Regions from separate parts of the Homo sapiens genome. Here all the other regions are linked to region 4. Evidence: promoter capture Hi-C in 16 types of primary human blood cells and fetal thymus (Javierre and others, 2016). All regions are on one chromosome and are shown on one strand. The core of a region is centred on a gene start or on the middle of the fragment in contact, and the rest is flanking DNA. Distances in the headings are between cores, read along the strand shown. Region 1 has its middle 10 kb from the start of UBALD1. Region 2 overlaps PPL (periplakin). Region 3 overlaps MGRN1 (mahogunin ring finger 1). Region 4 holds the start of ZNF500 (zinc finger protein 500). Region 5 overlaps SEC14L5 (SEC14 like lipid binding 5). Region 6 overlaps CDIP1 (cell death inducing p53 target 1).

Region 1 (4,342 bases), core at 418-2,917, 160 kb before region 4:
GGACACCAGGCCAGGCCATCTTGACACGTGACACCCAGGGCATCCCCCGGTCCCGCACAGCTGGGCCCCCCTCTCCCTAGTGCCCCTCACTGCCTGTCCCCACTGGGCCCCTCCAGAGCACCATCCCAGCCCCTTTCTTGGGTGTACAAGCCAGGGCTGGAGTGAGTTTCTGCAGCCCAGCAGGTGAGGAGCGAGGCCTGGGGGCATCTCCTCTGCATCCTCACGGGCCACCTGGGGGCTTGGGAAGGTGGGGACTCCGGCCCCACAGCAGGCCCGTGAGGAGCAGTCCCGGAAGAAGGCAGTGCCCAAGGGAGGGTGTGGGGAGGCTGGCCTTGGCCTGGGTCCCAGGTGGGAGCTGCAGGCAGAATCTCCCCTAACCCACACTAGTGCAGAGGGGTGGCGCCTGCAGGCCTTGGAAGCTGGGAGGGGGAGCTGCGCTACTCCCTAGGCAGCAGCTGTGGCTTGGTTGGGCATAGCGGCTCATACCTGTAAGCCCAGCACTTTTGGAGGGAGAGGCTAGAGGACTGCTTGAATCCAGGATTTCCAGACCAGCCAGGGCAACAGTGAGACCCGTCTCTACAAAAAAATAAATAGCTATGCGTGGTAGTGCATGTGTGTGGTCCCAGCTAGTTGGGAGGCTGAGGCGGGAGGATCAATTTAGCCCAGGACATCAAGGCTGCAGTGAGCTATGATTGCACCACTGCACTCCAGCCTGGGTGACAGAAAACAACAACATGGCCGGGCGTGGTGGCTCACGCCTGTAATCCCAGCACTTTGGGAGGCCGAGGTGGGCAAATCACCTGAGGTCAGGAGTTCGAGACCAGCCTGGCCAGTATGATGAAACCCCGTCTCTATTAAAAATACAAAACATTAGCTGGGCATGGTGGCACGCGCCTGTAATCCCAGCTACTCAGGAGGCTGAGGCAGGAGAATCGCCTGAACCCAGAAAGCAGAGGTTGCAGTGAGCCAAGATCGCGCCATTGCACTCCAGCCCCGGGGACAAGAGTGAAACTCCGTCTCAAACAAAAAAAAAGAAGACAGATGAATTGGTCATGTGGGGAGAGGAGGGAGGGGCGCGGGGCTCTGTGAATGGGGTGGGCAGGAAGGGAAAGGAAGGTCCCACCTTGAGGTGCTGCTGGAATAGAGGAGATGCTGTGTGGTGACCACCTCACACTGCCAGGCCCATCCCAGCCCACCCCTGCAAGTGAAAGGTCATTCAACGTGTTCTCCCTTTCAAGGACCATGAACTCATTAACACTAAGGGATAAACAACAGACGCCAGCACGTGTGTTGGAAAAGGGCACTGTGAGTACCCGAAAGTGGACTGCCCAGGGTGGAAGTTCAGGCACCAGACAGAAGGGCGTGGCATGCAGCGACTTCTTAGGGACGCAGGAACCAACACATGCTCCCTCCAACCCCCCACACCCACTGTCCTGGCTGGCTTGACTTCTGACTCTCCATGGATGTGCGAGCTCTAAGCAGAGACCTTCCACACACACAACCGGCAGACAAGGGTTTCTCTCCTCTGCCTCCCTCACCTTGCTCGTGGCTCCACTGGGATGAGGACAAAATGACTCCATCAAGATCGTGGCTTTGCAATTCCCCAGGAGATGAGAGATGACCCCGGGAAGCAGAGCAGAATTTCACCAGCAGGCTCCTCGGTGCCTAGTGCTGTGCCACTGACAAGTCCTTGGTCATCCTGGAAGGGGCCCCCAATTTCTGCCCTCCCTAAAAGGACTCGGTAGCCCCTCACCTCCAAAACAGCCGTGTTCTTTTAAGGCTCTGTTGAAATACATCCGTTGTCCAAATATGAGCAGTGCTCAAAAACCCAGAGAACTTTCCAAACGCAGGAATTAGAAGTAGCCTTGTGTCAAAAGAACTCCATTCCGGCCAACCTAGGAGGTCTCCCGTATTCGGGGAAGAAGACCGGAGTCAAAGGACTCATCTGTCCTGTGCCAGGGACTGCTGTGAAAGCCCCTCAGAGACCTCCAGGGCCACAGCAGCCCCACCCAGCCCCGCAGTCAGCCTCGGAGACAGCCTGGTTCCCTGTGGCTGACCGCAGGGTGTTCTCAGAGAACCCTGGCTGGACCGCTGCAAAGACCCTGGGGACACTCAGCAGCCCCTGGTGAGTCCCTCTCGACCGAGAGCATCTTGCAGAACAAGCCGTCTGTTTTCACGGCCGTTTCCAGGGGGAGCCCTGCCCACCGCCGTTCATCCTACCCCACTGGACAGGGCATTTACTTCTGAAGCTCCCCGTGGTGAAAAGACAGACCCCCTCCAGGGATTCCAGCCGATTCCCACGCAGGAGTTGGACTCGTGCATGGCTGTGGTGGCGTAGAGCAGGCTGGCAGGGGCAGGCCACGCCGTGTCCCCAGTGCCATGGTCAGTTTCAGCCAGTTATGGCCTTAAGGGAATTTGCACCAAATCTTCCAGTTTCCAAGATAAGTCGGAAGTGAGGCTTTTCCCATAAACTCTCCTGATTTTTTTTCTTGAGACGGAGTTTCGCTCGTTGCCCAGGCTGGAGTGTAGTGGTGCCATCTCGGTTCACCGCAACCTCTGCCTCCTGGGTTCAAGCGATTCTCCTGCCTCAGCCTCCTGAGTAGCTGGGATTACAGGCATGCACCACCACACCCAGCTAAGTTTTTGTATTTAGCAGAGATGGAGTTTCACCATGTTGGTAGGGCTGCTCTTGATCCCCTGACCTCAGGTGATCCACCCACCTCGGCCTCCCAAAGGGCTGGGATTACAGGTGTGAGCCACCGTGTCTGGCCTCCGGTTGGTTTTGCTTTCGATTTTCCAGGCTTAGAGAAGTCATGGGAGGCTCCAGGTTCTTTGTGTCACATTCAAGGTCTGGGGCATGTGGTGATTTCGTAGGCCCACCTCTGGCTCCCCTAGAGTTAGTCCTAGCCCACGTGCACAGCCCCCTTCTTTTTGTAAGATGCCCCTGCGACCAAGGGCTCCAAGCACACCTGGTAGGGCCTCTGCATCTGCCGGAAAACACCTGCACTGCCAGCCCCAGCCCCAGCCCTGCCCTCCCCAAGGCTCCCAGACTGCTCCCACTGGGAGTGGTTCCCACCTGGCCTGGGGCACTTATTAAAAATCAGATCTGGGGCTGGGTGAGGTGGTTCACGCCTGTAATCCCAGCACTTTTGGAGGCCAAGCCAAGAGGATCACTTGAGGCCAGGAGTTCAAGGGCAGCCTGGGCAACATAGCAAGACCTCATCTCTACAAGAAAATTTAAAAAAAATTAGCCAGGTGTGGTGGCGTGCACCTGTAGTCCCAGCTACTTGGGAGCCTGAGGTGGGAGGATCACCTGAGCCCAGGATTTCAAGGCTGTAGTGAGCTATGATTGCATCACTGCACTCTAGTCTGGGGAACAGAGCAAGACCCTATCTCTAAAACACAAATCAGATTCTTTGACCCTCCTCCAGAACAACTGCCTCAAGGGAGAGGCCGGGAACGTGGGTGTTCAGCAAGCACCCAGGGGACGCTTGTGCTCTGGAAGTCCGGGGATCGAGTCTGCAGGCTCCCACTCACGATGTGGGGGGCATGACTAGATGGCACGTAAAAATATATGTGAAAGGAGCTATTTTCATTTTTTTCTGTTTTTTTTTTTTTTTCTTTTGAGGTGGAGTCTTGCTTTGTCTCCAGGCTGGAGTGCAGTGGAGCGATCTCTGCTCACTGCAACGTCCACCTCCTGGGTTCAAGCGATTCTCCTGCCTCAGCCTCCCGAGTAGCTGGGACTACAGGCGCCCGCCACCACGCCTAGCTAATTTTTTGTATTTTAGTAGAGACGGCTGTTTCACCATGTTGGCCAGGATGGTCTCGATCTCTTGACCTCATGATCCCCCCGCTGCACCCTCCCAAAGTGCTAGGATTACAGGCGTGAGCCACCTGCCCAGCCTGTTTTATTTTCAATAACAGCCTTGAGGTATAATTGACACACCAGAACGTCCACATTTCTAAAGCATGCCATTGAGTGGCTTTTGGTACAGTCACAGATCAATCACCATCATCTACCCAGGGAGCTTCCACGATTGTACGTCAGGGCCTCGGCCTCGGCCTCGGCCCAGAGAGTCTGATGGCATGAGGCCAACGAACCTGTGGTTTGCCAGTTTTATTTTACCTGCTGTGCAGCCAGGTATGAGAGCCACAGAACTAGCACAGAGGCACTCCACTGGGACCATGGTGGCCTGTAGGAGACATGAGCACTGGCTGCAAACACTTCCGATTGTCCTAATAAGGGGGCTGCCCTTGGATTCAGTGGGGAGGGCTCAGGGATACTGCTCAGCACCACTGCAGGACAATAACACAGCCCTCAATGTCAACAGTGACCACGCTG
Region 2 (3,764 bases), core at 90-2,589, 160 kb after region 4:
AATCTTAGCAGTCCCCCATGGCTTACTCTCATTCATTCATTCATTCAGCACGCGTGTAGCACCAGTGTCTGGGGGAAGGCAGCCACACAGCCACATGTGGCTACCCCGGAGTCACATAGCTGCTGAGATAAGAGCTACCAAGGAGAAGGGGAGTCCATAGAATAGGTGGATCTACCCCAGCAGAGAGGTTGGGGAAGGCTTCCCTGAGGAACAGAAGGTAAACCTGGAAGTGGAAGAGAAGCAGTGAAAAGGGGTGGGAGGGGCATTCTGGGCAACAGGAATGGCAGAGGGAAAGGCCTTGTGGCCGGGCACAGCGTGGAAACAAGACGGTGACAGGCACATGTTGATGTGCAGGGCACCAGCTCCCAGGGCCTAAGAGCAAAGAGAGGTCTGGGGCAGGGGTTAAGCAGCTGGAGGTATGGTCAGATTTATGTCGTAAGGAGCTCCCTGGCTGCCATGGGGAGAAGGGACTGGAGCGCTGGAGTGGAAGAAGGAACAGTGAAGAGGGACTGGAGGCCTGCTGGGCTGCTGGCTCTGCAGGCAGGGAGAAGTGGGGATCCATTTAAAGGGAAAGGGCCTGCGTGCAGTGGCTCATGGCTGTAATCTCAGTGCTTTGGGAGGCTAAGGCAAGAGGCTCACTTGAGCCCAGGAGTTCAGGACCAGAGTGGGCAATATAGTGAGACCCCATCTCTACAAATATTAAAAATTAGCGGGGCACGGTGGTGTGCACACCTGTAGTCCCAGCTTCTTGGGAGGCTGAGGCATGAGGATTGCTTGAGCCCAGCAGTTCAAGGCTACAGTGAGCTATGATCGCACCACTGCACTCCAATCTGGGTGATACAGTGACAGCCTGTCTCTAAAGAATAAAGAAAGAACACTTAAAAAAAATAGGTTGGGGTAGGGAAGGGCAGGGCTGGGACCTGAAGAGAGCTTTGTCCCACCCGGAGGCAGAAAGGGGCACCAGGTGGCCTCCCGGGCTCCAGAGGCTGCAGCACAGCAACCCATCAGAAGCCGGGAGAACAAAGACCAGAGGCCGTTTCCCCATTCGCTCCCAAGACAGGCCGGGGCAGGCAGGCTGGGAGGATGCAAGGTGGTGCCGGTAACACCGGCACAGACCTGCCGGGAGCAGAGAGCAGCTGCACGCTGGGAAGCCAGGGTTCTCTTCCCCAGACGAGGAGCTTTGGAAGCTCTCTAAAGCAGCTTCTCCCCCAGGTCCCCTACTTCCAGGGCCTCCCCCAACCACACCCTTAGGGTATTGCTTAAAGGGTGTGGACGGAGCTGAGTCTCTCCCCCAAAATACCCTTTCCCAACATGATCCGCCCGACAGTGCCTGAAATGCTACCATTAGCAGCTGTTCCTCCAGGTAAGCTCAGCTCTGTCCTGAATCGAATTTATCCAGTCTCATTCCTTCTTCCAAGAGAACTGGGCAAGGGATGGAGGGGCAAAGCTAGAGAGAAGAGAGGTAGAGGGGGTTGCTGGGGGTAGAGGCAGTGAGCACAAACACCAATGACTCTACCATTTGGCCTGGAGCAGTCCCCAGGCACAGTTGCTGCCAGATCCAGGTACGAGTGGGGAGGCCTCATTTGCTTCCCCAGGCCCCCCTGGACTTCCAGCATCAGCCATTTGTGAGCTGTGAGCTCAAGGTGAATGTGAGCCCTCTGTGAAACAGGACACTTCCACCTGCATGGCAGGCCCGCTGTCAGAATGAGATGTAACATCCATGGCCTTGCTGGGCTCACAGTATGTGCCTGAGAAATGGCGGGGCGGCTCTCTCTAAGCTGTTACCCACATGGGTCCCCTCCCATATCGATCAGGCGTTCCTACCAACACTGATCGATGGGTGCATGTGCGTGTCTGCTTGAGTCAGCTCCCTGGTCAGCTCTGGGCTTGGCTCAGTCATGAATCTTTTTTTTTTTTTTTTGAGACGGAGTCTCGCTCTGTCTCCCAGGCTGGAGTGCAGTGGTGTGATCTCGGCTCACTGCAATCTCTGCCTCCCAGGTTCAAGTGATTCTCCTGCCTCAGCCTCCCCAGTATCTGGCTGGGATTACAGGTTTCCGCCACCACACCCAGCTAATTTTTAATATTTATTTTTGTAGAGATGGGATTTCACCATGTTGGCCAGGCTGGTCTTGAACTCCTGACCTCAAGTGATCCGTCCGCCTTACCCTCTCAGAGTGCTGGGATTACAGGCGTGAGCTACCGCGCCCAGCCCGTCATGACTCTTAATAGCAGTGTGTGCTTCCTAGTATTGGCTGCTATGATTTGCCGGGCACTCGCTCTGAACCAGGTCATGGGCTGGACCCATCATGTGCATCCCCTCATTTGATCTACCCAGCAGCCTCACCAACTGGGGGTTGCTGTTGTCACCCCACCTCATAGATGAAGAAACTGAGGCTCGGAGACATTAAGTGACTTGCCCAAGATCAAACAGCTTAAGAGACCCAGAGCTGCGGCCTGAACTCATGCCCAGCTAGCATCAAACACTGTGTTCTTGCTTTTTTTTTTTTCTTTTTGAGACAGAGTCTCACTCTTTTACCCAGGCTGGAGTGCAGTAGCACAATCTCAGCTCACTGCAACCTCTGCCTCCCAGGTTCAAGGGATTCTCCTGCTTCAGCCTCCTGAGTAGCTGGGACTACAGGCACCCACCCCCATGCCCAGCTAATAAAACACTGTGTTCTTAACCACTAAGAGGCTCAGGGTACCCCAGGTGCCTCCCAGTAGAGCATGCTTCCCTTTTGCCAGCTCTCCCCTCAAAGCCTGGGGTCCTGCCTCCCATGCAGGAGCGCTCCATCAGGGCGGCCCCAGTGTTGCAAGACCCGTCTAGGCAAGGCCAGGCTGCTGGGTGTTTACTGGGACCCAGGTCTGGGTGGAGGGGCAAGATTAATCCCATTCAACAAATTCAGAAGCGCTGGGGCTCAGGGATGCTATGTTTCTTTTCAAGCAGAGGCAGAATTGAGCCTGACTGCAGAGCTGGGTCTTGGCCACTCCATCCCACCCCGTGACAGGTCAGATGCCTCCTCTGTGAAGTCCTCCCTCACCTCCCAGCATCTGTGCTCTGACTGTGACAACTCTCACTTGAGGCCTGTCACAAAGTATGTGAGTGGCCAGGGTGGAGACCTCATCTGTCCGGCTCTATGCTCCATTGCTCCTGCCTGGCCCCATCAGTCCGACGCTCATGTAACCATACATGTACTGAAGCTTAACTCCATCTTATCTCTGTGATGTGACTGCCAGCGACTCAAGTGCAGGGAGGTTGTCCACGTCTCCTCCACGACCACGTGCTAAAACCCAGCAACAGTGCCTATGGAATTGTGCAGTGCACAGCCTGTCCACCATGATATCAAGTTTAACCCTGGGTACACCACAGCTAGCTTGCCCGCATTTGCTTAATAACTGTAATCGTCACAGATGCTATTACCTGCGGCCGCTTATCATTCACAACCTTTCCCCTGCATTATTTCATTTAATCCTGAGCCAACATCGCCAGGCAGGCACCGTGCTTATTCCCATCCCACAGGTGAGAAAACAGGCTCAGAGAAGCCAAGCAGCTCCTCTGAGGTCGCACAGCCAGGAGGGTGGCAGCGGGTCTCCTCCAGGGCCTCTCTACTAGGCTGGAGGCTGTCCTCGGTCACCTGCACCATCTGGCCTGACTCTGTCATTAGCTCAGGTGTGAACATCAACTCCCACACCTGTCATTAGGAACCCGGGCAACGGGAGCAACGGGGTTCACACCCTGTCCCGGCCCTCCCCAGCTTCAGCTGCTA
Region 3 (4,137 bases), core at 835-3,334, 140 kb before region 4:
TCAGCTGGATGGAAGCATAGTTGGGACCGGGACCAGCTGTGGGGCTCCCACGTAGCTTTGTTCCCAGCTCTCTTTCTGCCTCTATTGATGAGTTATGTGTTGACTGGGAGCATCTAGCTCCAAGTCTCACCCTCCATCTCCTCGTGGGGTTCTTTGTGGTGGAAAGGAGAGAAGGAAGAGGAGAGAGAACTTGGGCATCATGGGGACATCTAGATTGGGTCCTCAGATCCTGGCGTCTCATCTGATCTGATGTCTCAGTCTCCTGGGTGTCTCCGGACACCCACAGGCCAGATTTCTCTGAGTGTGGGCCAGGTCCACAAGTGGGGGAGGACTGCTAGACATGCCAGGGCCTGCCTGGGACCCCTTGGGGCCTGGGAACCTGCATTTTCAACCCATTCCCCATGTGAGTTTTACGTCCACTCAGGTTTGAAAAACTGCTCTGCCCAGGTTTTGTAAGGTGTGACTAGGTGAGGGCCTGGGGCCACTGGGATGAAGTGAGGGGAACCAGCACAGTTTGGGGGCACTCTGAAGGGGATGGACTCAGAGCTAGGCAGAACGCACTGTTGCCTGCCTGCTGGGGAGAGCACAGCTGTATCCCAGGCCCAGCAGCGGGTCAGCCTGGCCTTTGGGTGGTTCCACCCTGGGGTTTCCCTAGAGGTTCCGAGGGCTGATGGCCCTACATCAGATGGAGCAGTTTGCTGTTGTCCTCTTTCATCTCTGATATTCTTCCAGCCTGCCTCTGGCTGAGTGACCTTGGTCGAGGTTGCTTAACCCCCTGGGTCCCAGTTTCCTCATCTGTAAAACGGGCTGATGCTTATACAGCCCTCAGAACCACACCTGGCTCAGAAGTCCCCAAATGGTAGCTGCTACAATTGCTCATAAAGGAAGATAAGTGACTAGCTAATGACCATAATCATAGTAAGCAGTGGCATGACACAGATATCAAAAAGTTGAGTGGCACTTCCTGTCACCTGGGACCTGAGCTCACTTGATGTCCGTTCTTCACTTGGGCTGAACAGAATAACATACATGTCATTTACAGCCCGCTTCGGGATCCCACTGTGGCTGAAATGTCATTGCTAATCACTCGTGGCCCTCCCTCCCACTGAGCATCCATCGCAGAACACTCGCGTCAGCCACTATTGGTTGGCACTGGCACCCAGGTGCAACCCATCAGCTAGCTGCCTGGGTCATGTTGCCAGTGCCAGCAGTGTTCTGCGCCCATCCAGTCCACAGGTCCTCTCCAGCTGTGCTTTTTCCCTTTCTCTTCTCCATCCTTCCCTGGGGCCTTGCAGATACTTGTTCTTCTCTTTGTTCATCTCTTCTGGTCCTTGCCTTTGTGCCGCACTGGTTTCCTAGACTCCCCGCCTCTCCTGTCTCCTTAATGAGAACTCCGTCAGGTCAAGGGTGGGAGGCAGGCCGGGCCTCAGCAGCATTTTGGTGTGTTTCCCCAAGGGCAGACCGGGGACCGTGGAGACATTTGAGATGATTTTAGGGGTTGCCCCCATGGACCATTCAATCACCCGATGAGAAAGCTTTCTTTTCACATCTCTGTCAATTTTGTTGATTATGTCAAGGAGAAAGAGTCACTGGGTGGTAATATATGCATTTTTAACACCTAACACTGTCCATTTTTCTTAAGGGAACTTTCAGCATGTTCTGCAGCAGCGCTCAGCTTGAATTTAATATTTGCTTTGTTTTCACTATATCTGTTTTACTCTTCATAGCTTTATTGAGATGTAGTTCATGTACCACACAACTCATCCATTGTAAACATGATTTGATGATTTTTAGTTAAATTATAGAATTGTGCAGTCGTCTGGCCAGGCGCGGTGGCTCACGCCTATAATCCCATCACTTTGGGAGGCCAAGGCGGGCGGATCACAAGGTCAGGAGATGGAGACCATCCTGGCTAACACGGGGAAACCCCGTCTCTACTAAAAATACAAAAAAATTTAGCCGGGCGTGATGGCAGGCGTCTATAGTCCCAGCTACGCGGGAGGCTGAGGCAGGCTGAATTGCTTGAAGCTGAGAGGTGGAGGCTGCAGTGAGCCGAGATTGCGCCACTGCACTCCAGCCTGGGTGACAGAGCGAGACTCCGTCTCAAAAAAAAAGGCTGGGCGCGGTGGTTCACGCCTGTAATCCCAGCACTTTGGGAGGCTGAGGCAGGTGGATCACAAGGTCAGGAGATCAAGACCATCCTGGCTAACACCGTGAAACCCCATCTCTACCAAAAATACAAAAAATTAGCTGGGTGTGGTGGCGGGCACCTGTAGTCCCAGCTACTCAGGAAGCTGAGGCAGGAGAATGGTGTGAACCCAGGAGGCGGAGGTTGCAGTGAGCCGAGACTGCGCCACTGCACTCCAGCCTAGGTGTCAGAGTGAGACTCCGTCTCAAAAAAAAAAAAAAAAAAGAATTGTGGGTGGGTGCGGTGGCTCACGCCTGTAATCCCAGCACTTTGGGAGGCCGAGGCAGGCGGATCACGAGGTCAGGAGATCGAGACCATCCTGGCTAACACGGTGAAACCCCATGTCTACTAAAAATACAAAAAATTAGCCAGGTGTGGTGGCAGGCGCTTGTAGTCCCAGCCACTCGGGAGGCTGAGGCAGGAGAATGGCATGAACCCGGGAGGTGAAGCTTGCAGTGAGCCGAGATCACGCCATTGCACTCCAGCTGGGCGATAGAGTGTGACTCTGTCTCCAAAAAAAAAAAAAAAAAAGGAGGGGACATTGAAGCAACAACAACAAAAAAAAGAATTGTGCAGTCATCACCACAATTGCAGACATTTCCCTTGTAAAAGTTTCCTTCCATCTGTTTGCAGAGTCCCTACCCCAACCCCCACCCTCAGCCCATCAGCGATCTGCTTTCTTTTTTCTTTGAGATGGAGTGTTGCTCTGTCGCCCAGGTTGCAATGCAGTGGCATGATCTCGGCTCAGTGCAACGTCCGCCTCCTGGGTTCAAGCAATTCTCCTGTTTCAGCCTCCTGAGTAGCTTGGATTACAGGTGCGCACCACCACGCCCGGCTAATTTTTAAATTTTTGGTACAGATGAGGTTTCACCATATTGGCCAGTCTGGTCTCGAGCTCCTGACCTCAGGTGATCTGCCTGCCTTGGCCTCCCAAAGTGCTAGGATTACAGGTGTGAGCCACTATGCCCAGCCTTTTCTGTTTTTTTTTGAGACAGTCTCGCTCTGTTGCCCTGGAGTGCAGTGGTGCAATCTTGGCTTACTGCAACCTCTGCCTCCTGGTTTCAAGTGATTCTCCTGCCTCAGCCTCCCAAGTAGCTGGGATTATAGGCACTGGCCACTATGCCAGGCTAATTTTTGTATTTTTAGTAGACACGGGGTTTCACTATGTTGGGAAGGCTGGTTTCGAACTCCCGACCTCAGGTGATCTGCCCACCTCAGCCTCCAAAGTGCTGGGATTACAGGGGTGAGCCACTGCACCTGGCCTGCTTTCTGTTCGTATGTGTGTGTGTGTGTGTGTGTGTGTGTGTGTGTGTGTGTGTGAAAAGTGTCTATTTGAGTCTTTTGTCCAATTTTCAAAAACTGGATTGTTTATCTTACGGAGTTGTAACAAAGAGTTCTTTATGTGTTCTGGATAGGATTCTCCTGTCAGCCATGTGATTTGCAAATATTTTCTCCCAGTCTGGCTTGTCTTTTAATTTTCTTAATGGTGTTTCTTTTGAAGAGCAAAAGTTTTGAATTTTGACGAAGTCTCATTTACTGCTTTTTAAGTGGATACTGCTTTTGGAGTTATGTTTAAGAAATCTTGGGCCCAGGCATGGTGGCTCACGCCTGTAATCCCAGCACTTTGGGAGGCCAAGGTGGGCGGATCATGAGGTAAAGAGATTGAGACCATCCTGGCCAACATGGTGAAACCCCATCTCTACTAAAAATACAAAAATTAGCTGGGCGTGGTGGCACACACCTGTAGTCCCAGCTGCTCAGGAGGCTGAGGCAGGAGAATTGTTTGAACCCGGGAGGCGGGGGTTGCAGTGAGCCTAGATCGCGCCACTGCACTCCAGCCTGGTGAAAGAGCGAGACACCGTCTCAAAAAAAAAAAAAAAATCATACAGGCGGCTGGGTGTGGTGGTTCATGCCTGTCATCTCAGCATTTTGGGAGGCTGAGGTGGGCG
Region 4 (4,068 bases), core at 1-2,500:
GGATCTCTTCCTGTTCCAGGTCCTGCTCCAAGGTTGGCAGGGGCTGGAGGCCAGGGACAGTGGCCATTGCTTCCGGTGGGCCTTGTTCCTTTTCAGGCCTTAGAGTTGAACCTGTCTCTCTCTATACCTCTGGCCAGACACAGGAAGAGAGTTTTTTTCAGGGCCCTGTGGAGAGACGATAAAACCATCTGAAGGGCAGCCCTGGGGCTGGATAAGCCCTTTGGCCTGGGAAGCCCCTGCCCTGGTTCCAAGGCCAGCTCACCCCACCATGGAAAAGGAAAAGGAAGTGGATGAATGTCATCTTTGTTATTAACCCCCTGTTAATTCCCGGGTAATTTACTGAAGGGCTCTGGGCTTTGCTTCCTCACTGGGCAAACAGAGATGATAACAGGACCTACACACACAGGTTGCTGACAGAACTAAAAGGGATGGCTGGGGGCAGTAGCTGACGCCTGTAATCCCCGCACTTTGGGAGGCAGAGGAGGGCAGATCACGTGAGTTCAGGAGTTGACCACCTGGTCAACGTGGTGGAACCCTGTCTCTACAAAAAATACAAAAATTAGCCCGACATGGTGGTAGCACATCTGTAATCCCAGCAACTCGGGAGGCTGAGACAGGAGAATCGCTTGAACCCGGGAGATGGAGGTTGCAGTGAACTGAGATAGCGCCACTGCACTCCAGCCTGGGCGACAGAGAGAGACTCAAACAAAAACAATCTAAAAGGGATGTTTGCGGTCAGAGCTCGAGAATCGTTATTTTCCATGATTAGAGTGGGTCCTATATGGAAGGGGTTCCTTTGGAAATCTGATGAAAAGTAGGGCCTTTCTGCAGACTCTGCCTCAACTTGATCCCCGGTGTCCAGGTCTGGCGAACCCTGAAGCCCCTACGCGGCCCCGTCAGGCACCCCCGCGTGGGTGGTCACGACAGCCCCCCAATTCCAGGGTCCTGGGAGAGCTGGGACCCCCAGGCCGGGCTGCTTTCCCGTCTCATCCCTCAGGTGGAGGGTGAGCGGTACCCGAGGCCGCGGCACAGACCCGGGTGCTGGCGCGGGCCGCGAAATCGAAGCTTCGGCCGGGACCCGCGTCCCCGCGCCCCCCGCACTCACTGGAAGCGCTGCCGGCCGTGGGCAGTTCGGGGCAGGACCGGAGCGGCGGGTCTCGGCGGGAGTAGGACTGCGGGCCTCAGGCTTGGCAGCCAGGGACGCCAGAGCCGGGGCCGAAGACCCTAAACCAGGGGTGCAAACCAGGCCGTGCGGGTGGGCCCGCAGGCGGCATTGTGGGTAACGTAGCCGTGGCACCATTGGCTAAGCCGGCCGTTGGGGGCGTGGCAACACGGCCGAGTGGGCGGGTCCGCGACGTGCACTGTGGTTAATGTGGTCCTCAAAGGCACGCATTGTGGGTAACGTAGTCCAGCACCTCGGTGACCGCGCGAGCGTGCGGCGACTCTGCAGCCTCTGGGCTACTTTCCCAGTCACTGTTCCACACCCGCTCCGCTCTCCTCTGGCCGCCTCCTCCATCTTTAAAGCCAGCAAAGTCGTCCGGGCACGGTGGCTCACACCTGTAATCCTAGCACTTTGGGAGGCCGACGCGGGCGGATCACCTGAGGTCGGGAGTTCGAGACCAGCCTGACTAACGTGGAGAAACCTGGGCGTGGTGGTTCATGCCTGTAATCCTAGCTACTCAGGAGGCTAAGGCGCAGGTTGCAGTGAGCCGACATCCTGCCATTGTCCTCCAGCCTGGGCAACAAGAGCGAAACTCCATCTCAAAAAATAAATAAATAAATAATAAATAAATAAAATAAATAAAGGCAGAAGTTGTTCAAGATAAAACTGGAAGAGATGCCAAGTGCTTGCGCCCACCCTCCCCCAAGAGGGCCCCCAACAACGTCCAACCCCAAATATCCCTTGTCCTGCCTGCTTCTTTCTGACAACATAATAATGGGCATCAATCTTTGTTGTTGTTGTTAGAGATGAAGTCCCACCATGGTGCCTAGGCTGGTCTCAAACTCCTGGGCCCAAGCAATCTTCCCGCCTCAGCTTCCCAAAGTGTCAGGATTACAGGTGTGCCCAGCCAGGTATCAATTCTTGTATGTATGTATTTATTTATTTAGAGACAGGGTCTCACTCTGTCGCCCAGGCTAGAGTGCAGTGGCTCGACCTTGGCTCACAGCAACCTCCGCCGCCCGGTTTTAAGCAATTCTCCTACCTAACCTCCCGAATAGTTGGGATTACAGGCACGAACCACCAGGTCCGGCTAATTTTTGTATTTTTAGTAGAGATGGGGTTTCCCCATGTTGCCCAGGCTGGTCTCCAACGGCCTCAAGCAATCCACCCACGTCAGCCTCCCAAAGTGCTGAGATTACAGGAGTAAGCCACCGCTCCCGGTCGCATCAATTCTTGAGCATCAAGCAAGCAAAACACATTTGTACTTCGTTTCTTCCTCATTTAGTAATAGAGGTACTATAACTAGACCTACCGGTTCAACAAAACAAAACAAAACCCTGAAGCTCTGAGAGTTTTAAGTATTGAACCCCCCAGAGAAGGTCAAACAGGAAGTACAGAAATGGGATTGGAACCCAAATCTTTGATTCCAGAACTTCAGCTCCTAACTACCAGGTTAACGTAGTTTGCCCCTAATCCTAACTTGGGCATCCTAAGGCCCGTCTCCTATGCTGGATTCTCGCTGCTTTTCCTCTTTGGTTGAACATGATCCGGAGTTTCCCTCTGCCTGGGGTGCCCAGGAAAGAGTCCCAGCACCGAGTTCGGGTGAGCAGCAACGCAGCATACACAGCAGGCGTACACTCAACGTACGCCCCGCCCCGCACAAGCTCCGCCCCGCATGCGCGCCCCGCCTCGCATCCCGGATCTACCCCCGGAATCTCGCGCGTCTTTCCCAAAGCATCGGCTAGGACTCAGCCCGCCGGAAACAAATTTGGGGACGCCGGATTCAGGAAGCTGGCAGGACTACATTTCCCAGAGCGCCCCGCGCCCTCCCCGGAGGCAGATTCCTGGGCGCTCTAGAGGGGGTGGGTTGGCGGCCTGGAGGGTCTCCTCAAGTGGCGGCACTGCCAGGGGCTCGGAGGAAGGGGCTGCAGTCTCCCGGTGGCAGCGTCCTTGTCGTCGAGACTGCGGGCGGTTCCCTTGCGCGCCCTGAACCTCAGTTTCCATATCTGTTAATGGGGGACATTAACCCTCAAGGTTGTAACTCATTCAAGACCATTCATCCAGGCATAATAAATGCATAAACGCTGCACGTTGAGTCCTCCCAACTGCCCCCTTAACTAGGCGCTCGGGTGATGGAGTGGTGGCAGGTGCCTGCTTTCATGGAGCTTGCCATGAGAGGCATACAGTGGACAAAATTACCATGAGAGGCATACAGTGGACAAAATTGCACGAAGAATTGTTTAATCACTTCTTTGGCAAATGTTAGCAAGCGGCGTAAAAGAGGGAACCTGATACCTTCAGGGTGGAAGTGACAGTTGAGCAGCCTAGGGTTAACCTGGGGAACCGGTGGGGAGGATTCCAGACAGCAGGAGTGAAAAGTGCAAAGGTCCTGGGGCCGGAGAGAACACGGTGCGTTTGAGGAACAGAATGGAGACCAGAGATTGGGAGATGTGGCTGGAGGGATGGGCAAGGCCTGACCATACTTGGAGACTCTGGTGAGGATTAAGGATTTTATCCTTGGAGTCAATAGAGTTTGGGGTTTTAAGTAGGATAGCATCGTGATCAGATAAGAAGCTTTGTGGAGTACAGATCTCAGAAAGACTGGAGAGGAGCAGTGAGACTAGCTGGAAGCTCCTGGAGTGGTCCAGAGTTGGGGTAACTAGTGATGGTGGTAGTCACTGACAAGGATCTGGCCAAGATTCCTGGAGCACATTCAACAGTGCTTGGTGGTTGATTAGCTTGGGGTGGAGGAGGGAGACAAGGATAACTCCTTTGTACAATGGGGATGGTAACATCACCTGCAGTAGGCACCATTATGGTAAAGAGACAGAACAGAACGTCAGACACATATAGGCTTAATATGTCCTAATTCTGTTAGTAATAAAGACTACCTCTGTGTTCAGGGC
Region 5 (4,251 bases), core at 1,183-3,682, 220 kb after region 4:
GGAAGGCTGGGCTGGGGAGTAGCGGGAACTGGGCGGGGTTCGCGGGGCCAGGGCCGGAGCTGGGTGGTGAAGATGGGTTGGCGGCAGGGCGGAAGTCGGGGGTTGGTGTCCTGGGTCCGGGCTGGGTGGGCGGTGGCGCAAGGGACCTGGGACTCAGGGCAGGGGGTGACTGGGGCAGGCCCGCCGGACTCGCTCTCCATTCCTGTGTGCTCCACGCCGCCCACCCACCTCCGCCTCCCCGCCCCTTCCCTTGCAGATCGCAGGTGTTGAGCACGTGGTCTTCGTGCAGACAAACATCTTGAACTGGAAGGAGAGGACGCTCCTCATCGAAGCGCACAATGAGACCTTCGCCAACCGCGTGGTGGTGAACGAGCACTGCAGCTACACGGTGAGCCCAGGCCACCCTCAGCGCCCACGCCCGGCACCCACCTGCGCCCGGCACCCACCTGTGCCCAGAGCTGTGTCCCCACATTCCTTGAGCCTCTGCCAAGCCCTCCCTCCTGGGGCATTGTCAAGAAAGATGCAGGATGCTTGGTTGCCTTTGCATTCCGATGAACAACCCATAATTTTTTTAGTATGTCTCAAATATTGCTTGGGATATACTTATACTCAAATGTTATTTGTTGTTTATTTGAAATTCAAACGTGACTGGACATCCTGTGTTTTATCTGTTAAATCTGACAACCCTATCCTCTCCCTCCTCTTTCCCCTCCCTCCTTTCCTTCCTTCTTTCATTAAATTATGCCTCAGTTTCCTCACGTGTGAAATGGGCTTAATAATCATGCCTACTACACAGGTAGTATGTGGCGCCTTTAGACCAGTGCCTGGCACATATTAAGTTCTACGTAAATGTTACCTTTGACTATAATTAATAATAATCATAATTATTCTCTAGTATATACTGATTGAGCACCTACTATGTGCCAGGCACCCTGCCAAGTGATGAGCACCCAGCAGTGGACCAGGCTGCCTGACCACTGCCCTCACGGAGGGTCCATTCCAGTGGAACAAAACGGAATCAGTGTGTGTGCATTTGTCACAGCTAAGGCTGGATCCAGCAGGGAGATGTGTGGGAGTCAGAGAAGGTGGTAGGGGCACTGAAGCTGAGTGCTGAAGGATGAGAGGAGCTGCTCATGGAGGACTGGGAACAGCATTTTGGGGGTGGGAACAGCATGAGTGAGGTCTGCCAAGGTGAGGCCATGGGGCCTAGATCTTGATGACTTTAGAGGCTGGAATGAGGCACCTGCAGGCATTCACTGATGGGACCCAGCTCTGCCACTTTCTTGCTGAGTGACGTTGGGCCACACTGTCTGTATCTGTAAAATCGGGACATTGGCAGATCCTGCCTTGCTGGATCGTTTTCACGATGATAACTCCAGGATAGCAATGGTAGACCATTGTACGTGTTTTTTTTTTTGTTTGTTTGTTTGTTTTGTTTTTTTTTTTGTTTGTTTTTTTGAGAGACAGTCTCGCTCTGTGGCCCAGGCTGGAGTGCACTGGCATAATCTTGGCTCACTGCAACCTCCGCCTCCTTGTTAAAAGGATTCTCTTGCCTCAGATTCTCACGCCTCAGATTCCCGTGTAGGTGGGATTACAGGCATGTGCCACCACATCCGGCTGATTTTTGTATTTTTAGTAGAGATAGGGTTTCTCCATGTTGGCCAGGCTATTCTCAAACTCCTGGCTTCAAGTGATCCACCCACCTTGGCCTTCCAAAGTGCTGGGATTACAGACATGAGCCACCGTACCCGGCTCCATTGCCTTTTCTTTCTACGCCTCCAACTCCTCTTGGGTCCTCCAGGAGCTTGGGCTCAGGGTGTTCAGATCTTCTGGGGAGGGGCAAGCAACAGTTGTTGAAACCCCTCTTAGTGTGTGTGGTGTTTCTCAGAATGAGTTCTATCAATAGCTGAGTCAGCAGCACCTGGGGCTGCTTGCGAAATGCAGATTCCTGGGCCCCAACCTGGAAGTGTCTAGGGGCAGGCCCAGGAATCTGCATATTTTAACAGACTCCTTGGTAATGTTTCTGCCCACAGACGTTTGAGGAGGACTAGGTCTGGATCCATAAAGGAGCTCTGCCAATGAAGTTTTCTTTTTGCAAACATACAGATCTATAAATGTTTATTGATATATAAGGATATGTAATATATCTTTATATAGATAACATATAATATACAACTATTTAAAAAATCTATATCTAAATTTTATGTGTAATATTGATATATAATTTATTTATAGATTATATAAATGATACACTGAACAATTGTATTTATTTTATTATTTTTTTTTTGGAGATGGAGTCTTGCTCTATTACCCAGGCTGGAGTGCAGTGGCATGATCTTGGCTCACTGCAACCTCCGCCTCCCAGGTTCAAGCGATTCTCCTGCCTCAGCCTCCCGAGTAGCTGGGATTACAGGCACCCACCACCATCTCTGGCTAATTTTTGGATTTTTAGTAGAGATGGAGTTTCACCATGTTGGCCAGGCTCGTCTCCAAGTCCTGACCTCAAATGATTCGCCCACCTTGGGCTCCCAAAGTGCTCGGATTACAGGCGTGAGCCGCCATGCCCGACCTAAACATAAGTATTTCTAACTAATTTTCTATGTATGTGTATAATATTGAAAGGGCAGGGCTGCAGATTTGAGACCCACATTCTCCCGGCTTCTCATGAGAAGGCTTTTTGTTCCCTGACAGTTTGAACTTTGCATCGTTCTCTGGGTGGGGGCCCCTTGGTCCTGCTACCCCATCCAGGGTTGCCAGGCTTGATCTGCTTTCCACTGCAGGCTCTGCCTGGGCCCAGGTCAGTGGGAGAGCCCTAGGGGAGGGCAGGGTGCCCCCGACATTGAGTCCCTGGCATGACCCCTGCCTGGCTTTCAGGTCCACCCTGAGAATGAAGACTGGACTTGCTTCGAGCAGTCTGCCTCACTGGACATTCGGTCTTTCTTTGGCTTTGAAAATGCCTTGGAGAAGATCGCCATGAAGCAGTACACCGCCAACGTCAAGAGGGTAAGCGGTGGGTTGCGTTAGTTACTGGAGGAAGGTGCACACACCTGCTCTGCCATCAACAGCTGCATGACCCCTGGCAAGACCCTTACCCTTCCTGGGCTCAGTGTTATCTGTTAAATGGGTACTCTAGTAATGACCAAATCACCACGAGATAATGGATGGAAAGTAACTGGTCTGTAACAGGGGCACCCTAATCCTCGCTCTGGCACCATGAGATGTCCAGGCTTATGTGGTGAATTATCTGGACAACAGATAATTCTGTGGTGCTTTTTTTTTTTTTTTTTTTTTTTTTAGATAAAATGATCATTGCTTGCTCTAAAGACCTCAGATCCATCCCTGAGTAAAAACCCGTTCTTGTGATGAAACAGATGAAATTAACTTTAATAACAAATTTTTAAACAATGTGTTATCAATATAAAACTTAATTCTCCGAGGTTGGAGGCCCAGTTGAGCCCAGGAATTTCAGAGCAGTCTAGGCAACATAGTGGACTCCATCTCTAAAAAAATAAAATAAAATAAAATTAGGTGGGTGTGGTGGTGTGTGCCTATAGTCCCAGCTGCTCAGGAGGCTGAGGCAGGAGGATCTCTTGATCCTGGGAGGTTGGGGCTGCAGTGCGCTGAGATGACACTACTGCACTCCAGCCTGGGCAACACAGCAAGACACTGTCTCAAAAAAAATAAACAAAAACAAAAACAACCCCCAACCCAAAAAACTGATTACTGAGCTATTTTGCATTCTTTGTTTCGTACCAAGCCTTGGAAATTAGGTGGGTGTTGGACACTCGCAGCTTCTCTCCATCCCGACCAGACACATCCAGCCACTCAATAGCCACGTGTCGGGGCTGGGACCTGAGCCGGCTGGGGGTGACTCCCTGTGGTGATCCTGTGACCCCCCTCCATCCTGCCCCGTGCTCATGTGTCTTGGGTCTCTCTGGCTTCCAGGGGAAGGAGGTGATTGAGCATTACCTGAATGAGCTCATCTCCCAGGGTACCTCGCACATTCCGCGCTGGACGCCTGCCCCAGTCCGTGAGGAGGATGCCCGCAACCAGGCTGGACCGAGGGACCCCAGCTCCCTGGAGGCCCACGGGCCCCGTAGCACCCTGGGGCCCGCTCTGGAGGCGGTCAGTATGGACGGTAGGTGGTACAGCCCAGGCCAGTCAGCCCTAGGAGGCTGCTGCAGGTCCTCTTGCTCCATGGGGGGCCCTGGGGCATGTTGGGGAGAATTGCCTGCCGTCCCCCCTGGGAAT
Region 6 (4,177 bases), core at 1,470-3,969, 250 kb before region 4:
TGACCAAGAGAGGGAAAGCCTTGCGGGTCACCCACCCCTCTCCTGCACACAAGGCGCCCCTCCCCACCCATGTCAGGTCCTGGTGTGCCAAGGACCAGCCCTTCCTGACCAGCCTGAATAAGAGCAGTCCCACCTTCCCACGTCCACAGTCCCTGTCCACACACAGCCTGAGCCCTAGGCAAGGGCTGGTTGGGCGTGTTGGAGTCCCTGCCCTACAGCAGATGCCCACCTGTACTGAGGACAGCCAGCGCAGGCCAGACAGCAGCCAGGAGTTCCCCATGCTCCCCTCAGATCCCTTCCCCACTCACCCGGAGGCATGTAGGTGCCATCTGCACTCATGTGTGGTGGGATGAAGCCAGGCTGGGGCATTGGGTGACCCGGCGGCTCATAGGGTGGGGGGCCAATGTCCGCAGGGGGCAGTGGCATGCCTGGAGGGGGCTGCATCACAGCTGGGGAGGAACGGCCTGGACAGAGAGAGGCAGAAAGAGGAGACTGAGCTGGAGCCTCTGCACGATGAGCTCGACCAGAGGCCACTGTTTTGGGACACAGATGGGGCCCAGGGGTAACCCTGGAGTGGGCATCACCACTTAGAGAGTCCCAACCATGCCATGGCGGCAGGGGGCTGCAATATGGAGCCTCAGGAACAGTGACCCCCTACCTGGGGTGGGCGGGGCTCCACTTTTCTCTTCCAGAAGTGGGGCTGTGGGGCCCCCAGGATAAGGAGGGGGAGGCTCGCTGGACATCTTCGCTGCTTCTCCTGGACATGGAGGGAAAACCCAGACATGAACTAAGCTCCCAGCCAGGTTCCTTCTCCTTCAGCCCTGTGGGGTGGCCAAGATGCTGCACAAGGCGTGTGACCATCCTCAGAAGGGTCTGCCTCCAGGCACTGGGGATCCCCCACCTTTCCCAGGGCCACCTAGCCCAGAGCCACCATCCTCACCTCTCAGTAGTCACCTGCTCTTCCCTGTTTGGAAGCTGAAGGGCAAGGACAGAACCCAGGAAGCAGGGCCCAGTGAGGTAAAGTCCCCCAAGGAGCCTAACTCAGCACTTGCCCCACACGAGAGCAGTTTGGCACCGAGCTCTCCCCTCCCCAAACGTTTAGCGGGCACTAAGGCAGTCGGAGGAGACACTGGACCGATCTCTGCCACAGGCTGCACTGGGAATGGGGGTTCTGGGGGATTTCTTACCTCAAATCCGTGCTACTCAGAGAAGGGAGGCAGGTGAGGCTCCTTCAGCTGCTGGCCTGGATGGACAGGGAACAGGCAGGGCTCCGGGAGCTGTTTCAGGGGAAGGAAAGGCAGGGCCCTCAGCAGGGAGCAAGGGCTGCCAAGCCAGGGCTGGGCCCAGGGGCCTGGGCATACCACACAGTTCCTCCCCTTCCACATCCGGCTTCTCCCTAGCTGTCACTCTGCCATCCACACACCCGACCACCCCTCCATTCCTCGGTCCCGTCGCAGGTCTGCTTCCTCCCTCCCCCAGGACTGCTGGCACCCAAGGGCCACGGCTGGGCCCTCTGCCTCCCCTCCCACCAGGCCTGAGCTCCCATGCATGAGGACTGGACTGCCAGGCAAGCTGTGCTCTGGCCTGTGCCCTTCTGGTTTGTTTGTTGAGGTGGGGGTCAGGGGGAAGAAGAGTCAAGTGAAATCTTTTCCCTCATTTCTGTCACCAAACTCTCTGAGCACAGCTCAGAAAGGTGGGAAGCTTTTGCTCTTACTTAGCATCATAAAGGACTTGGGAAGTGGGGTTCAGTTACCTTAGCTAAAAGTAATAAAATGAGACAAAAATCAGTTTCAGTGGAACAAAAAATACAGGGAAAGGAGTGTTTCCCAGACAGCCCAGCACCTGCAGGGGATGGAGGGCACATAAGTTTGAATATAAAGTTTAACAAATCAGGGGCAGGGCCAGAGGAACCAAGTCCAAGCTCTTGGGTTCAACTATAAAGTACCATGGAAGTTTGAAAACTGAAAGAGATCAAAAAGCTGTTAGAAGAAAATGCAGGCATCAATCTTTATGACCTTCGATTAGGCAGTGGTTTCTTAGATATGACACCAAAAGCAAAGCAACAAAAGAAAGAAAACTTAAAGTGGATGTCATCAGAATGAAAAACTCTTGTGCTTCAAAGGATACCATCACATTTTATAATTCATAGATCTGATAAAGGACTTGTATTAAGAAATACAAAGAACTCAACTCAATAACAGAAAGACAACCCAATTTTTAAAAGGATTTGAACAAAGACTTCTCAAAAGACAAATGGCCAAAAGCACATGAAAAACTACTGAGCGTCTTTTCATAAGGGAAATGAAAACCAAAACCACAAGGAGACCATTTCCTATCTACTAGGATGGCTAAAATTTAAAAAGACAGTAATAGGCATTATGTAGAAAAACTGGAACCCTCATACACTGCTGGTAGGGGACAGCCCCTGCAAACCTTTTGAAGAACTGCCAGCCCCTGTTCCCCTTTTGAGGAACAGTCTGGCAGTTCCTCAAAAGGTTAAACCTAGAGTTACCAGATGACCCAGCAATTCCACCCCTAGTTATCTGCCCAAAAGAAATGAAAACCTGTCTACACAGAAATTTGTACACAAATGTTCACAGCAGCATGAATCATAATAGCCAAAAAGTGGAAACAACCCAAATGTCCATCAACAAAGTGGATAAACAAAACCGTAGGCTGCCCAGACAATGGAAGACGATTCGGCTATAAAAAGGAAGGAAGCACTGACACCCTACAGCATGAACTCTGAAAACATGCTTGGTGAGAGAAGCCAGACACAAAAGGCCACATACTGTATGATTTCACTTATATGAAATGTCCCCAATAGGCAAACCCATAGAAACGGAAAGTACATTAGTAGCTGTTTAGGTCTGGGGGAGAGGGGAAATGGGGAACATGGAATCTCCTTCTGGGGTAACGAAGATGCTCTGAAACCGATTGTAGCAACAGTTGAACGATTCTGTGAATAACTAAAAACCACTGAATTGTACACTTTAAATGGGTGAATTGAATGGTACGTAAATTATGTCAATAAAACTTATTTTTAAAAAAAATGAGGGAAAAGAAAATTAGTCCTACTGCAGCCCATCTCCACATGTCCCTGCTGGTCTGTATGCACAGGCACCTGTACCTTTTGGTTTTGTTTTGTAGAGACGGGGGTCTCACTATGTTGCCCAGGCTGGTCTCGAACTCCTGGCCTCAAACAATCCTCCTGCCTCGGCCTCCTAAAGTGTTGGGATTACAGGCAGGAGCAACTGCGCCCAGCCCATACCATATAAAAATATAGTTGCTGTCCTGACAGTTTTAAATCCTTTTTTTTTTTTTTTTTTTTTTTTTGTGAGACAGAGTCTTGCTCTGTTGCCCAGGCTGGAGTGCAGTGGCGCGATCCTGGCTCACTGCAACGTCTGCCTCCCGGGTCCCAGCGATTCTCCTGCCTCAGCCTCCCAAGTAGCTGAGACTACAGGCACACGGCACCACGACTGGCTGATTTTTGTATTTTTTTAGTAGAGAAGGGATTTCACCACATTGACCAGGCTGGTAAATCCTTTTAATGCTGTGTCACACATATTCCATCTTACAAGACTCCGTGACCGTTGATATTAATATTCCACAAAATGGGCATACTTGACCAAACCCTATTAAGACATTTAGGCAAGGCCCTACTTGCTGCTTTCATGAAATACAAGAGAACACCTCTGTCCACCGCTCTTTCCCTTTTGTTAGATTATCTCCTCAGGCTAAGCTTGTCAGAGTGAGATGACTAGGTCAAAGGACATGAGCATTTTATGCCTTTTTGAAAGGATGCCAATTTATAGTGCCAGTTATTAATTTTCATATTAAAATGTCACTTATTTTTATATGCATTTCTTTGGCAATCAGGAGACAGAACATCTTTCCAAGTGTTCAGAAATTACACCTCTTCTGAGTTGCCTTATTATCCACAGAAGACATGGAGGCCTAGAAAAGGATGGGGCGGGGCATAAGTCTAGGACCCCAGCATGACTCTCCCACCCTCCTGCCTGCACAGTGAATTCCAATGGCACAGGGTTAAGAAAAGGGAGCAGTGGCCAGGTGCAGGGACTTATTCCTGTAATCTAATCTCAGCACTTTGGGAGACTGAAGCTGGCAGATGAACTGAGGCCAGGGGTTCGAAACCAGCATGGTCAACATGGCAAGA

The links. Contacts are between HindIII fragments. The CHiCAGO score rates a contact against its expected background, and 5 or more counts as called.
Region 1: a contact is called between a fragment that was not itself captured here and the fragment with the promoter of ZNF500 in region 4, in 1 of 17 cell types (neutrophils). The highest score is 5.9, in neutrophils.
Region 2: a contact is called between a fragment that was not itself captured here and the fragment with the promoter of ZNF500 in region 4, in 6 of 17 cell types (erythroblasts, endothelial precursors, M0 macrophages and 3 more). The highest score is 6.8, in erythroblasts.
Region 3: a fragment that was not itself captured here is called in contact with the fragment with the promoter of ZNF500 in region 4 in 3 of 17 cell types (fetal thymus, erythroblasts and monocytes); the score reaches 7.9 in fetal thymus.
Region 5: a contact is called between a fragment that was not itself captured here and the fragment with the promoter of ZNF500 in region 4, in 1 of 17 cell types (megakaryocytes). The highest score is 5.5, in megakaryocytes.
Region 6: a fragment that was not itself captured here is called in contact with the fragment with the promoter of ZNF500 in region 4 in 2 of 17 cell types (erythroblasts and M2 macrophages); the score reaches 5.9 in erythroblasts.

Annotation. Positions count from the first base shown.
Region 1 is chr16:4,602,485-4,606,826 of GRCh38, forward strand. No RefSeq gene overlaps it. Among named protein-coding and RNA genes, the nearest start is that of UBALD1, 10 kb to the right of the region's middle. The HindIII fragment of the contact is 8,608 bases long and covers 1-4,342 here.
Region 2 is chr16:4,930,507-4,934,270 of GRCh38, forward strand. The region is part of intron 1 of PPL (periplakin); the gene reads right to left. Among named protein-coding and RNA genes, the nearest start is that of PPL, 4.8 kb to the right of the region's middle. The HindIII fragment of the contact is 3,713 bases long and covers 1-3,196 here.
Region 3 is chr16:4,625,685-4,629,821 of GRCh38, forward strand. The region is part of intron 1 of MGRN1 (mahogunin ring finger 1); the gene reads left to right. Among named protein-coding and RNA genes, the nearest start is that of MGRN1, 2.9 kb to the left of the region's middle. RefSeq lists an enhancer at 462-990. The HindIII fragment of the contact is 1,102 bases long and covers 1,534-2,635 here.
Region 4 is chr16:4,765,912-4,769,979 of GRCh38, forward strand. ZNF500 (zinc finger protein 500) reads right to left here and starts at 1,251. Exons shown (of 6, transcript NM_021646.4): 1 at 1,106-1,251; 2 at 1-165. The coding sequence starts at 67. RefSeq lists a silencer at 998-1,297 and an enhancer at 2,490-2,569. The HindIII fragment of the contact is 2,671 bases long and covers 1,064-3,734 here.
Region 5 is chr16:4,987,893-4,992,143 of GRCh38, forward strand. It overlaps SEC14L5 (SEC14 like lipid binding 5), which reads left to right. Exons shown (of 16, transcript NM_014692.2): 4 at 257-388; 5 at 2,875-3,003; 6 at 3,946-4,138. Among named protein-coding and RNA genes, the nearest start is that of SEC14L5, 32 kb to the left of the region's middle. The HindIII fragment of the contact is 7,545 bases long and covers 1-4,251 here.
Region 6 is chr16:4,513,388-4,517,564 of GRCh38, forward strand. CDIP1 (cell death inducing p53 target 1) reads right to left here. Exons shown (of 6, transcript NM_013399.3): 2 at 1,188-1,277; 3 at 659-757; 4 at 309-464. The coding sequence starts at 743. Among named protein-coding and RNA genes, the nearest start is that of CDIP1, 23 kb to the right of the region's middle. RefSeq lists enhancers at 1-357, 358-884, 885-1,412. The HindIII fragment of the contact is 2,041 bases long and covers 1,700-3,740 here.